Regions from separate parts of the Homo sapiens genome. Here regions 2 and 3 are each linked to region 1. Evidence: promoter capture Hi-C in 16 types of primary human blood cells and fetal thymus (Javierre and others, 2016). All regions are on one chromosome and are shown on one strand. The core of a region is centred on a gene start or on the middle of the fragment in contact, and the rest is flanking DNA. Distances in the headings are between cores, read along the strand shown.

The links. The method cuts DNA at HindIII sites, captures the fragments that hold promoters and counts their contacts. A CHiCAGO score of 5 or more calls a contact.
Region 2: a contact is called between the fragment with the promoter of CD27 here and the fragment with the promoter of PHB2 in region 1, in 4 of 17 cell types (non-activated CD4 T cells, activated CD4 T cells, naive CD4 T cells and 1 more). The highest score is 8.9, in non-activated CD4 T cells.
Region 3: a contact is called between a fragment that was not itself captured here and the fragment with the promoter of PHB2 in region 1, in 4 of 17 cell types (fetal thymus, naive CD4 T cells, naive CD8 T cells and 1 more). The highest score is 7.5, in fetal thymus.

The regions. Positions count from the first base shown.
Region 1 is chr12:6,968,756-6,972,596 of GRCh38, forward strand. PHB2 (prohibitin 2) reads right to left here and starts at 1,909. Exons shown (of 10, transcript NM_001144831.2): 1 at 1,662-1,909; 2 at 1,441-1,525; 3 at 743-822. The coding sequence starts at 1,788. It overlaps EMG1 (EMG1 N1-specific pseudouridine methyltransferase), which reads left to right and starts at 2,158. Exons shown (of 6, transcript NM_006331.8): 1 at 2,158-2,336. The coding sequence starts at 2,169. RefSeq lists enhancers at 1,833-2,435, 1,956-2,025, 2,116-2,295, 2,346-2,465. The HindIII fragment of the contact is 5,065 bases long and covers 480-3,841 here.
Region 2 is chr12:6,443,341-6,446,758 of GRCh38, forward strand. CD27 (CD27 molecule) reads left to right here and starts at 1,615. Exons shown (of 6, transcript NM_001242.5): 1 at 1,615-1,891; 2 at 2,084-2,215. The coding sequence starts at 1,756. It overlaps CD27-AS1 (CD27 antisense RNA 1), which reads right to left. Exons shown (of 6, transcript NR_015382.2): 5 at 206-377. RefSeq lists enhancers at 707-776, 797-846, 1,751-2,252, 1,797-1,856, 1,887-2,066 and 1 more. The HindIII fragment of the contact is 1,289 bases long and covers 1,027-2,315 here.
Region 3 is chr12:7,640,784-7,644,426 of GRCh38, forward strand. No RefSeq gene overlaps it. Among named protein-coding and RNA genes, the nearest start is that of APOBEC1, 23 kb to the right of the region's middle. The HindIII fragment of the contact is 2,109 bases long and covers 1,071-3,179 here.

The DNA.
Region 1 (3,841 bases), core at 659-3,158:
CACAGCTGAAATGCACCCTCACCCACTGTGAAGCCTTGAACTGCAAACCCCGTCACCAGCAGAGCTGACTACTCTTTCCCCCTCTGTACTCTGTGCAACCTCTAACGTGGGCGCTTTCGTGCTGTACCGTAATCATGTCTCCTGTAAGGACTTGGGGGACAAGAATTGTGTTTAATGAATCTTTTATTCCCAGGGCCCAGTCTAGTAAATGAATAAGCGACCTGCACTAGGTATAGCACAAAGAAGTACATTACAGGTTACAGGTGAGCTACCTGACCCAGGGTGTATATGTGTGCGTGGGTGGGGAGGAGGAAGAGGTCTGGGGAACTCAAAGGCACGGCTTTTATGTATGGTCTAGAAGGAGAGAACAGGTGAACTAGTCAAGCTTAGGGACAAACTTCTCCAGAACAGAGTGTACTAGTGGATGTAACTGTAGATATAGTAAGTCAAGCAGTTAGAAAAAAAAGGCTTTAAAACAAAGCTTTGATCTAGGCAGTGAACAAGACGAGGGACAAACAATACTCTTATTGAATACACGTCAGGGAGGAGACAGTAAAAAGCACGCAAACACAGTGTGTTCAGAATTTGCTGCTTTGACCCCAGGAGGCAGGTATTTTTGTTACAGCTCTTGCAGATGTGGAAAGAGGCCTAAAGGCCTGACACTACCATATTCCCCTGGGGTTTCTTGCCAGCTACCTTGATCATCCCACCTGCCATGTGATTACCAAGTGCTCAGACCTACCTTTGGAGCCTGTAGGGGAGGAGATTTTTCGAGGTCTGGCCCGAATGTCATAGATAATGGGGTACTGGAACCAAGGGATCCTGGAGAGGACAGGGATAGGTATTAAGAGGCCACAGTTTCGGCCGGGCGCGGTGGCTCACGCCTGTAATCCCAGCACTTTGGGAGGCCGAGGCGGGCGGATCATTTGAGGTCAGGAGTTCGAGACCAGCTTGATCTACATAGTGAAACCCCGTCTCTACTAAAATACAAAAATTAGCCGGGCGTGGTGGCGGGCGCCTGTAATCCCAGCTACTCGTGAGGCTGAGGCAGGAGAATCGCTTGAAATCAGGAGGCGGAGGTTGCAGTGAGCCGAGATCGCGCCACTGCACTCCAGCCTGGGCGACAGAGCAAGACTCCCTCTCCAAAAAAAAAAAAAGAAAAGGCCGCAGTTTCACTAGCCTTGCCCGGTTTCCCCTCACCACGCGTTTTTTGGCCTGCTCCTCTCCACGACCACAGACAAGGAGAGATTCTCTTGTCCCTCTGGAAAACAACAGTTTGTATGCTGCTGGAGGTTCTCGCAGCACCCACTATCCTAGGGGCAGGGATGAGGAGGGTGGGAAAAGAGCAGCGTTGAATCCTGTTGCACGTCCGACTATAGCCACTGCTGGGTCGGCGTCAAGGGTGAAAGGTCAGGGTCAGCAGGCTCTGCCCGCCATTACCTGAAGTGAAGGCCCTCGGCCAGGATAGTGTCCTGCTGCACTCCACCGATCCGATTGAAGAAGATGGCTCTGTGCCCGCCTTCCACTGTGGGGAGATGGGTGGTGATCAGGCCAGGCCGCTGCTCAGAGGAAATGCTAGGCCCGTGGAGGGGCGCGGGGACAGGGCAAGGGGTTTGGGGGAGGGACTGGAAGCGTCCGGCGAGCAGGCGGAGGTTGCTCACCGGTGAACACAGATTCGCGCACACCGTAGGCCACGGCGCCGGCCCCCAGCAACAGCTTCAGGGCCGTGCCCATGCCCCGGGGCCCGGCGGGCAGCCGTCCCGCCAAGTCCTTCAAGTTCTGGGCCATGTCTGATCTTGAGGCCGGCGGCACTGGAGGTCAGAAGGGGGTGCCGGCCCGCCTCTACCCCGCTCCGGCTTAGGTACTGCACCCTTCACACGAGGGTTCGGGCCCGTAAGGCTGGCGAAAGAAAGGGCAGCGGAAGTGCGCTCCCTTTGAAACCCTCCCCCTTAGCCCACTACGGACCCGAACTTCGCGCACAGGAATCGCGCATACGGAAGTCCCGCCCCTTTCTGGAAGGCTGCCCTCCCAGGGAGGGCAGCGCAAGACAGCAAGTCATCTCCATTTCCTGGCCCACTTTCAAAATGGCAGCCGGAAGGAAATTTGTGATTAGAAGCCGCGCTGTTCTTATTTAAGAGCGTTAGCGCAACTTCCGGTATTGTTGCAAGATGGCCGCGCCCAGTGATGGATTCAAGCCTCGTGAACGAAGCGGTGGGGAGCAGGCACAGGACTGGGATGCTCTGCCACCCAAGCGGCCCCGACTAGGGGCAGGAAACAAGATCGGAGGCCGTAGGCTTATTGTGGTGCTGGAAGGGGCCAGTCTGGAGACAGTCAAGGTAGTTTGGGACAGGAAGTGGAGAAGTAGTAAATCGATAGGTTGGGACTCCGTGGAATGAGGGTAAGGGGCCCAGAGTGGATGTAGAAAGCAGAGAGGGGTGAAAGATGCTTTTGAAGGAAGGTGGCTTGGTTGGCTTTGCGTTGATTTGACATCCTGGGATGGTAGTACTCATTTTTCTTTCTTTTTTTTTTTTTTTTTGAGACGGAGTCTCGCTCTGTCGCCCAGGCTGGAGTGCAGTTGCGCGACCTCGGCTCACTGCAACTTCTGCCTCCCGCCTTCAAACAGTTCTCCTGACTCAGCCTCTGGAGTAGCTGGGACTACAGGCAGGTGCCACCACGCCCGGCTAATTTTTTTGTATTTTTAGTTCAGATGGGGTTTCACCATGTTGGCCACGCTGGTCTCGAACTCCTGACCTCAAGTGATCCGCCCGCCTCGGCCTCCCAAAGTGTTGGGATTAGAGGCGTGAGCCACTGTGCCCGGCCGGTAGTACTCATTTTCTTTTGCTCTTTTTGAATGATATTCTAGCCCTCACCTCCTTGCTTCCAATTGGTTTACCAGGATTCTGTGGTATAGTAGTCTAAGCAGAGGAAAGTTTCGTTCCTTGCGTCATTCCACATCCCAAGACAAGTTACTGGGCAGATGAGAAACGTAGTTATGTAGCCTAGTCTGCCCACACTTTTTGTAAGGGCTTCGTGTTTCAATTCATTAGTATCCATAGTCACCTCTCTCTAATATCCACCTATGATACACTGTCCAGACCTGGTTATTATTTAAAACTTTTACATCTGCATTTTTATCTATCATTCATCTCTTTCCCCACATGTAATAGAACCAGCAGTTCTCTATCTTAAAGCCTTGGGCAGTGTTCTTCCTCCTCCTTTCTCTTACCCGTTAGAACTAATTGAATAGGCCCAGAAGAAATCGCATTGGTTTAGAAGTCAGGCCAGGATTTTAATCTTCGTTCTAAATACACTTTTTTTTTTTTTTTTTTTTGAGATGGAGTCTCAGTCTCTACCAGGCTGGAGTGCAGTGGCACGATCTTGGCTCACTGCAGCCTCCGCCTCCCGGGTTCAATCGATTCTCCTGCCTCAGCCTCCAGAGTAGCTGGGATTACAGGCCTGCGCCTGTAATCTATTAAAAGAATAGAAAACATGATTATATCCTACTAATGGGTTGAAACTGTATTATTCATTCAAGAAGGTTTTTTTCTTCTATAACTAAGGGTGTCTCATGGACTTAGTTCTTGGTCATTTGTTCTTTGTGCTCTCTGTGACATTACTTCAACTATTCAATTTCAAAATCTACATCCCTTTTTTCGCAGACTTTTTGGAGCCATATATCTCAAGAATGTTGCTAGACATATACATTCCAGTGATACATAAAAACTTAACCTTCCAAAACTTGTATTTGTATATAACAGTTTGTTTTTAGACTTTTTACTGACCACCCTAATGCTCCTTGGGACTCCAAATTGCAACTTGGAATTATTTCTTTTAGCTGCTA
Region 2 (3,418 bases), core at 365-2,864, 530 kb before region 1:
GACAGCAGCGTTAGGCTAGTGAGCAGTTCCCAGTCGGTTCAAGGTTGCTAGGCTCAGCGAACTGCAAGTCCCTGTTCGACAAGTTTCTTCCTAAAGGTCCCCAGTTCCTCATGATTCTTCTGAGGGTCTCATCCACCCTCCCAGGGCCTGCAGTCAGCTAGCCACCCCACTGCCCCATGCCTGCAGTGAACACATTTACCACAACCTGGAAATGGCTGGTGACAGAAAAGTCCTCACGGCCACAACACTCTCTGCGGTGGGAATTCAGGTGCCTTGCCTGATGGTGACAAAGCTGGTTTTGCATAAACAGCTCTCTGAATCACACCCAAATGTGGCTTCTGACTTGAGTGGACCCCCATGAAGAGCTGCAGAGGGGGCTGGGAAAAGACAAGAGAATGGAGAAAATGAGGAGAAAGGAAACTACAGAGTGAGATAGAGAACAGATCTGACAGGTGTGACCACAGCAGTGTGACATTTATGAACAGTGTGGAAACAACGGCAAAGCCCCTAAATTAAAAACTTCCTGGGGAAATAAGCCACTCCACATATCGGTTGCTGAGGAAAGAGTGGAGGAGGCTGTTGACCCGTGTGTGTCCCCATGACTCAAAGAGGGAAAAGTCTAGCTGTTTCCAATATCCCGAAATCAGTCTTGCTGGGAGAACTGGGAAAATAAAAAAGAGATGACCCCCGTAGGAAGCTACCTTTAATCCCAAGTGCCCAAGGCTAGGAGAGAAGATGCTCCAGGCGATCCAGGACACCAGTGACTGACACAGCCAGAGGTGGGAAAGGGGAGGATAAAGATGGCACAAAAGTGAGGAGTGAGCAAGGGTCTGAGAGGGAAGGCCATGTGGGCAGTAGGTGGCACCCACATCAGAGACTGACATGAGGATTAAAGGAGAGCATAGGTGATCGGTCAGAGTGTGACAGAAGAGAGGCAGCTCTACACCCCTTGCTTGCAATTCTGAGCATTCTGTAGCAAACTCGTTTGGCCATCAAACCAGACCTCAATTGAGACAAGGCTATTTAAGCTTCCTCCCAGTTGGTGTAAATATTCAATAGTTTTGCTGCAGAAATGTTGCGTTTGATTATGAGACTACCCCAACTCCCCAAGGGTGTTTTGTGGTGCTGGTTTCTGTATAAACCTGAAAAATTCTGAATTCCAAAACTTATCTGACCCCCAAAGTTTCAGATAAGAGCTTGTGGACCTGTGCTCAATTCTGGTTCTCCTTCCTTCTTTCAACTGTTGTCTGTGAAAGGAGGGATGCAGGTATGGGAGACAGGAGTCCTGCGAATTCGTCTGTAAACTGTGGACGGGGGGGTGGGTGGGGGGGGGTAACGTGGGCACCTTTGTGCACAAGTGCATGAATAGGAGGGGTGAGCAACTGTGTGTCCATCACCTTTTTGTCAAAGAAGCAGGAGTCAGTGGGCTACGTGCTTCATGAGCAGGAGAGGCGGAAACTAAGGAAGGCTCATGTGTTGGAGGAAGCATGTTTGAAGAGCAGCAGGTCTCACAGAGTTTGCTCTTTAATACTCTCCCCAGCACACGGAAGGGGAAGGGGGTGGAGGTTGCTGCTATGAGAGAGAAAAAAAAAACAGCCACAATAGAGATTCTGCCTTCAAAGGTTGGCTTGCCACCTGAAGCAGCCACTGCCCAGGGGGTGCAAAGAAGAGACAGCAGCGCCCAGCTTGGAGGTGCTAACTCCAGAGGCCAGCATCAGCAACTGGGCACAGAAAGGAGCCGCCTGGGCAGGGACCATGGCACGGCCACATCCCTGGTGGCTGTGCGTTCTGGGGACCCTGGTGGGGCTCTCAGCTACTCCAGCCCCCAAGAGCTGCCCAGAGAGGCACTACTGGGCTCAGGGAAAGCTGTGCTGCCAGATGTGTGAGCCAGGTAAGAGGGGGCCTTGGTAAGGGCCAGGTGAGTGGCGAAAGAGAGAGGACTGGGGTTAATACAGTAAATAGGCGCAGGGTGAGACTGAGCTCAAGCAAGGAGGGAAATCCTGCAGCTGTGGGGAGGCACCACCTTGAAGAGGGCAGAGAACCAGCCCTTCTCAGGCCTTGATCCCTTACCCTCTCCTCCCAGGAACATTCCTCGTGAAGGACTGTGACCAGCATAGAAAGGCTGCTCAGTGTGATCCTTGCATACCGGGGGTCTCCTTCTCTCCTGACCACCACACCCGGCCCCACTGTGAGAGCTGTCGGCACTGTAACTCTGGTGAGGTGGGCAAGGGTGTGTAGGTGGGGACGATGGACAAGCATCTGGGGGAGCAAGGCTGGTGACGGGTTTGGGGGTGCAAGGAGGATGACGGGGCCAAAGCTTTGGCCTTCTTCAAGGCTCACAGCAAGTGGAGCCAATGCTGGGAAATGCGGCACCCTAGGTGGGGCATGAATTAACGTGGGCAGACATCTAGTATTCCAGGAAAGGGATAAATAGAATTTGAGGGATTGGTGAGAACGGGTCTATGGATAGGATCAAGACAATAAAATGAGAGAAGTGGCTCTATGACCCCAGATTTCGGGCAAGCAACCCCCAACCAATAAACTGACTGTGTTCCCAGAGTGCACATGTGCAGGTTGGCCATTGGGAATTTGGAATACATCTTTCTAAGGAAATAACAAAGCAACCCAATAGGTAACAACCTTTTTTTGCACAAAAGCCAATTTGAGAAAATGAGTATGTATGTAGCCTGTGTTTTTATTTTATAGTTCCAAAAAAAAAGGTTTTTTTTAAACTAAGAAGTATAATATCTGCAGTTGTGCTTATGAATGCTGTTATTATTTCTCCATCTTCGCTACAATTTCAGAAACTACGGCCAGTATACACTAGAATAGCAGGCTTTAAAGTGGCCCCTTTGAACAAATGTTCTCTAGCAAGACACTTTTTAGAACCAGGTAACTGTAACTATTAAACTACCTACTTGCAAAACGTGTTTGGTGTCACTGGGTCTCTTGGTACTGGGTTTTGTTTTGTTTAGTTTAGAGACAAGGTCTAGCTCTGTCACCCAGGCTGGAGTGCAGTGGTGCAATCATAGCTCCCCACAGCCTTGAACTCCTGGGCTCAAGCAATCTTCTAGTCTCAGCCTCTGAAAGTGCCAGGATTACAGGTGTGAGCTGTAGTGCCTGGTCCCGTAAAAACAAAAACAAAAACCAACACCAGATGTGGTGGCTCATGCCTATAATCCCAGCACTTGGGAGGCCAAGGCAGAAGGGTATTTGCATATTTTGTAGAGACTTGAGCCCAGGAGCTTGAGACCAGCTGGGCAACATAGTGAGACCTTGTCTCTAAAAAAATTGGCTGGTCATGGTAGTGCACCTGCAGTCCCAGCTACTTGGGAGGCTGAGATGGGAAGATCACTTGAGCCCAAGAGGTCCCCAAGAGGTCCAGGCTGCTCACATCACTGCACTCCAGCCTGGGTAA
Region 3 (3,643 bases), core at 875-3,374, 670 kb after region 1:
GAACAACTCCCGACGCGCTGCCTTAAGAGCTGTAACAGTGACCGCAAAGGTCTGCAGCTTTACTCCTGAGCCCGCCAGACCATGAACCCACCAGAAAGAAAAAACTGAACACACCTGCACATCAAAAGGAACAAACTCCAGACGCGCCACCTTAAGAGCTGTAACACTCACCGTGAGGGTCTGCGGCTTCATTTTTGAAGTCAGTGAGACCAAGAACCCACCCATTCCGGACACACCATCACTTAGTTCATCCGCTCCCATGGCTTGGGGGACCATGCTTACAATCGTGGGTGGCACATTTAACAGGGTCCCAGGAACCAGGGAAGGAAAACAGGACACTCCACTGTGTTATTCTCCGTCGGGGGTCATAGGGAATCAAAGTAGATTAAAAGGACACTTTTATTGCTTTTCTTTCTAGATGGGTAACAGATTATCTTCAGTTTGTGCCCCTCTGGCGTGCACTCTGAAACACTGAAACTTTCTTAGCCTCAGGACATTAAAGAGAAGAGCAACTCATTTTATTTTGCACAAGGGCATGGTATTTTTACTGAAACTTTGCAAGCAGTGTAAGATCAACCCAGCTCTTTTAGGAATCATATCAGGCACGCTCACTGAAAATAATTCCCCAAAATTAGAAAAGCAACTTCCAGAGGAGCCATCTGAAGATCCCCCTTCTTTGGGGGCCCCTTCAAGTTCCCTTCTCGTTACAGCCCCTTAGGCCTGTAATAAAGGGAGACTTAGCCAATTTTCTCACAACCCTGATAGGTATATAAAAGCTTTCCAGGCTGGGCGCAGTGGCTCACGCCTGTAATCCCAACACTTTGGGAGGCTGAGGCGGGCAGATCACGAGGTCAAGAGATTGAGACCATCCTGGTCAACATGGTGAAACCCCGTCTCTACTAAAAATACAAAAATTAGTTGGGCGTTGTGGCATGTGCCTGTAATCTCAGCTACTTGGGAGGCTGAGGCAGGAGAATCGCTTGCACCCAGGATGTGGAGGTTGCAGTGAGCCAAGATCACGGCACTGAACTCCAGCCTAGCAATAGAGTGAGACTCCGTCTCAAAAAAAAAGCTTTCCAAAATTTAACTCAGGTATTTCACCTCAGATGGAAGGATGTTATGTTGCTCCTAAGTCAGACCCTCACTGCAGCTGAAAAGCAGGCAGCTCTGATTTCAGAGATTAGCAACATATCTCCTATAATACACCAAAAGGGAAGAAAGCAGATAAGGAAAGAGAAGAAATAGCAGAAATGCCATTCCCAATTGGGAGGAAAGCAGTTTCCCTTGACAACCCTAATTGGGACCCCAATAACTCAGGAGATGAAAAGGAAGCTCTTTTTTAAGTGTGCATTAGAGGGCCTACGGAAAACCAGGGCCAAACCTCTCAATTACTCTAAACTGTCCATGATAAACAGCCAGATGAGAATCTTGTAGCCTTTATGGAAAGGCTGAGAGAGGCACTAACAGAACACCCCTCCTTATCCCCTGATTCAGTCGAGGGACAGCTCATCCTAAAGGACAAGTTTATTAGACAGGCAGCTGCCAATATTAAAAGGAAACTACACAAGCAAGCTATAGGACCAGATAGCACCTTAGAGAACTTCCTGAAAGTGGCCACTTTGGTCTTTTGTAATAGGAACCAGGAGGAGGCCCAAAAGAAAGAGACAATGGTCAGAAGGACAGAGACTCTAGCAGCAGCTTTGCAGGCTTGCAAAGTCCAGGATCCCGGAGGTGCATCTGCTAGTTGCTATCAGTGTGGCAGGCCAGAGCATGTTAAGAAAGAATGCCCATACAGCAAGACAAAGCCACCTCAACCCTCTCCAGCCTGTGGCAGAGACAACAGGAGATGGAACTGCCCCCAGAGGTGGAGGTCACTGGGTTCAGAACCAGTCTTACTGATGATCCAGCAGAACTGGATCCCGGGGCTCAAACTCCAGCTCCAGCGGCTCAAACTGCCATTACAGCACAGGAGCTCTGAGTGATTCTGGAAATTAAAAGAAGGAAAGTAGACCTCTTTCTAAACACTCAGCCAGTCTCTCTTTTTTCTCCTCTCTAATCCAGGCCTCCCCTCTTCCCATAGCACAACCAGAAGGGGCATCTCAGGAAAAACTCTACTCCAGTATTTTTCTCAACCTTAGTTGACACGTGCTTCCAAGCCATTATCATGACAGCTCGCTAATCAGAAAAGCCTCCAAGTTAACCCTAGGAAATAATTTAACTGTTTACACCCCACATAATGTGGCAGGATTACTGTCCTCTAGGGGGAGCTCTTAGCCAACAAACCGCCAGTAAAGCAAGAAGTACATAAGGCAGGATAAGCAGTAGTCACTCTAAATAACGTCTCTCCCCAGGCACAAGCGCTCAATTAGCTGAGCTAACAGCTTTTACAAGCACACTTGGATTAAGCAAGGGAAAGGTAGCTAACATTTATACTAACTCCAAGTATGCTTTCTTGGTTCTCCATGCTCATGCTGCCATTTGAAAGAAAAGACATTTTCGGCCAGGCGGTGGCTCACGCCTGTAATCCCAACACTTTGGGAGGCCAGACGGGCGGATCACGAGGTCAGGGGATCAAGACCATCCTGGCTAACATGGTGAAACCCCGTCTCTACTAAAAATACAAAAAATTAGCCAGGCGTGGTGGCAGGCGCCTGTAGTCCCACCTACCTGGGAGGCTGAGACACGAGAATGGCGTGAACCTGGGAGGTGGAGGTTGCAGTGAGCCGAGATCGCGCCACTGCAGTCCAGCCTGGGCGACGGAGCGAGACTTCGTCTCAAAAAGAAAGAAAGAAAGAAAAGACATTTTCTTACCATTAATAGATCCCCTATAAAAATATCACCAGGAAATTAGCAGGTTATCTTCAGTTTTTCTTCCACAAGAAATAGCAGGAATGCATTGTAAGGAACATCAAAAGGGAACAAATGAGGTAGCCAAAGGAAATAGGTTAGCTGATCAGGCAGTTAAGTCAGAGGCAAGGAAGCCTCAAGCCGTTAAGGCACTTAAGCCCCTTCTAATCTAGGAAGGCTCCATAAGAAAAATTAAACCTCAGTATTTCCCTGCAGAAATAAAATAGGCCACTTCTCGAGGACGTAGTTCCCAGCCCTCAGAAAGGCTACAGTCAGAGGATGGCAAACTCCATTTGCCAGCCTCCAGCCAATGTCCTTAAAATCCTTCACCAAGCTTTTCACTTGGGAAAGGATAAAACTTATCAGTGTGCTCAGAGATTGTTTTCAGGCAGGAAACCTCTAAATTGGTTAAGCATGTAACCTCTCTAGCTCACTTCCAACAAGAATTAACGCAACTAACAGAAGTCCAACCCCAGGAAACAGAACCACCTTTATTTAACCCAGGAAATTTGGTGTTAGTGAAAACCCTCATCTCTGTCTCCTTCCCTAAGCCAAGCTGGGAAAGGCCCTACACTGTTCTTCTTTCAACACCATTGGCAGTAAAAGTTACAGGAATCAACTCCTGACTTCCACATTCAAGTCAAAGCCTGAACAGCTGAGGGATCAACCTCTGACAGCCCAGAGGCACGTCCTGAATATCAATGTGGAGAAATAGAAGATCTTAAACTGAAAATCATAAAAGATAAGTAACTGAGTGAGGGCTACTCCTACCTCATCGGGTACTTTTTATTATTTC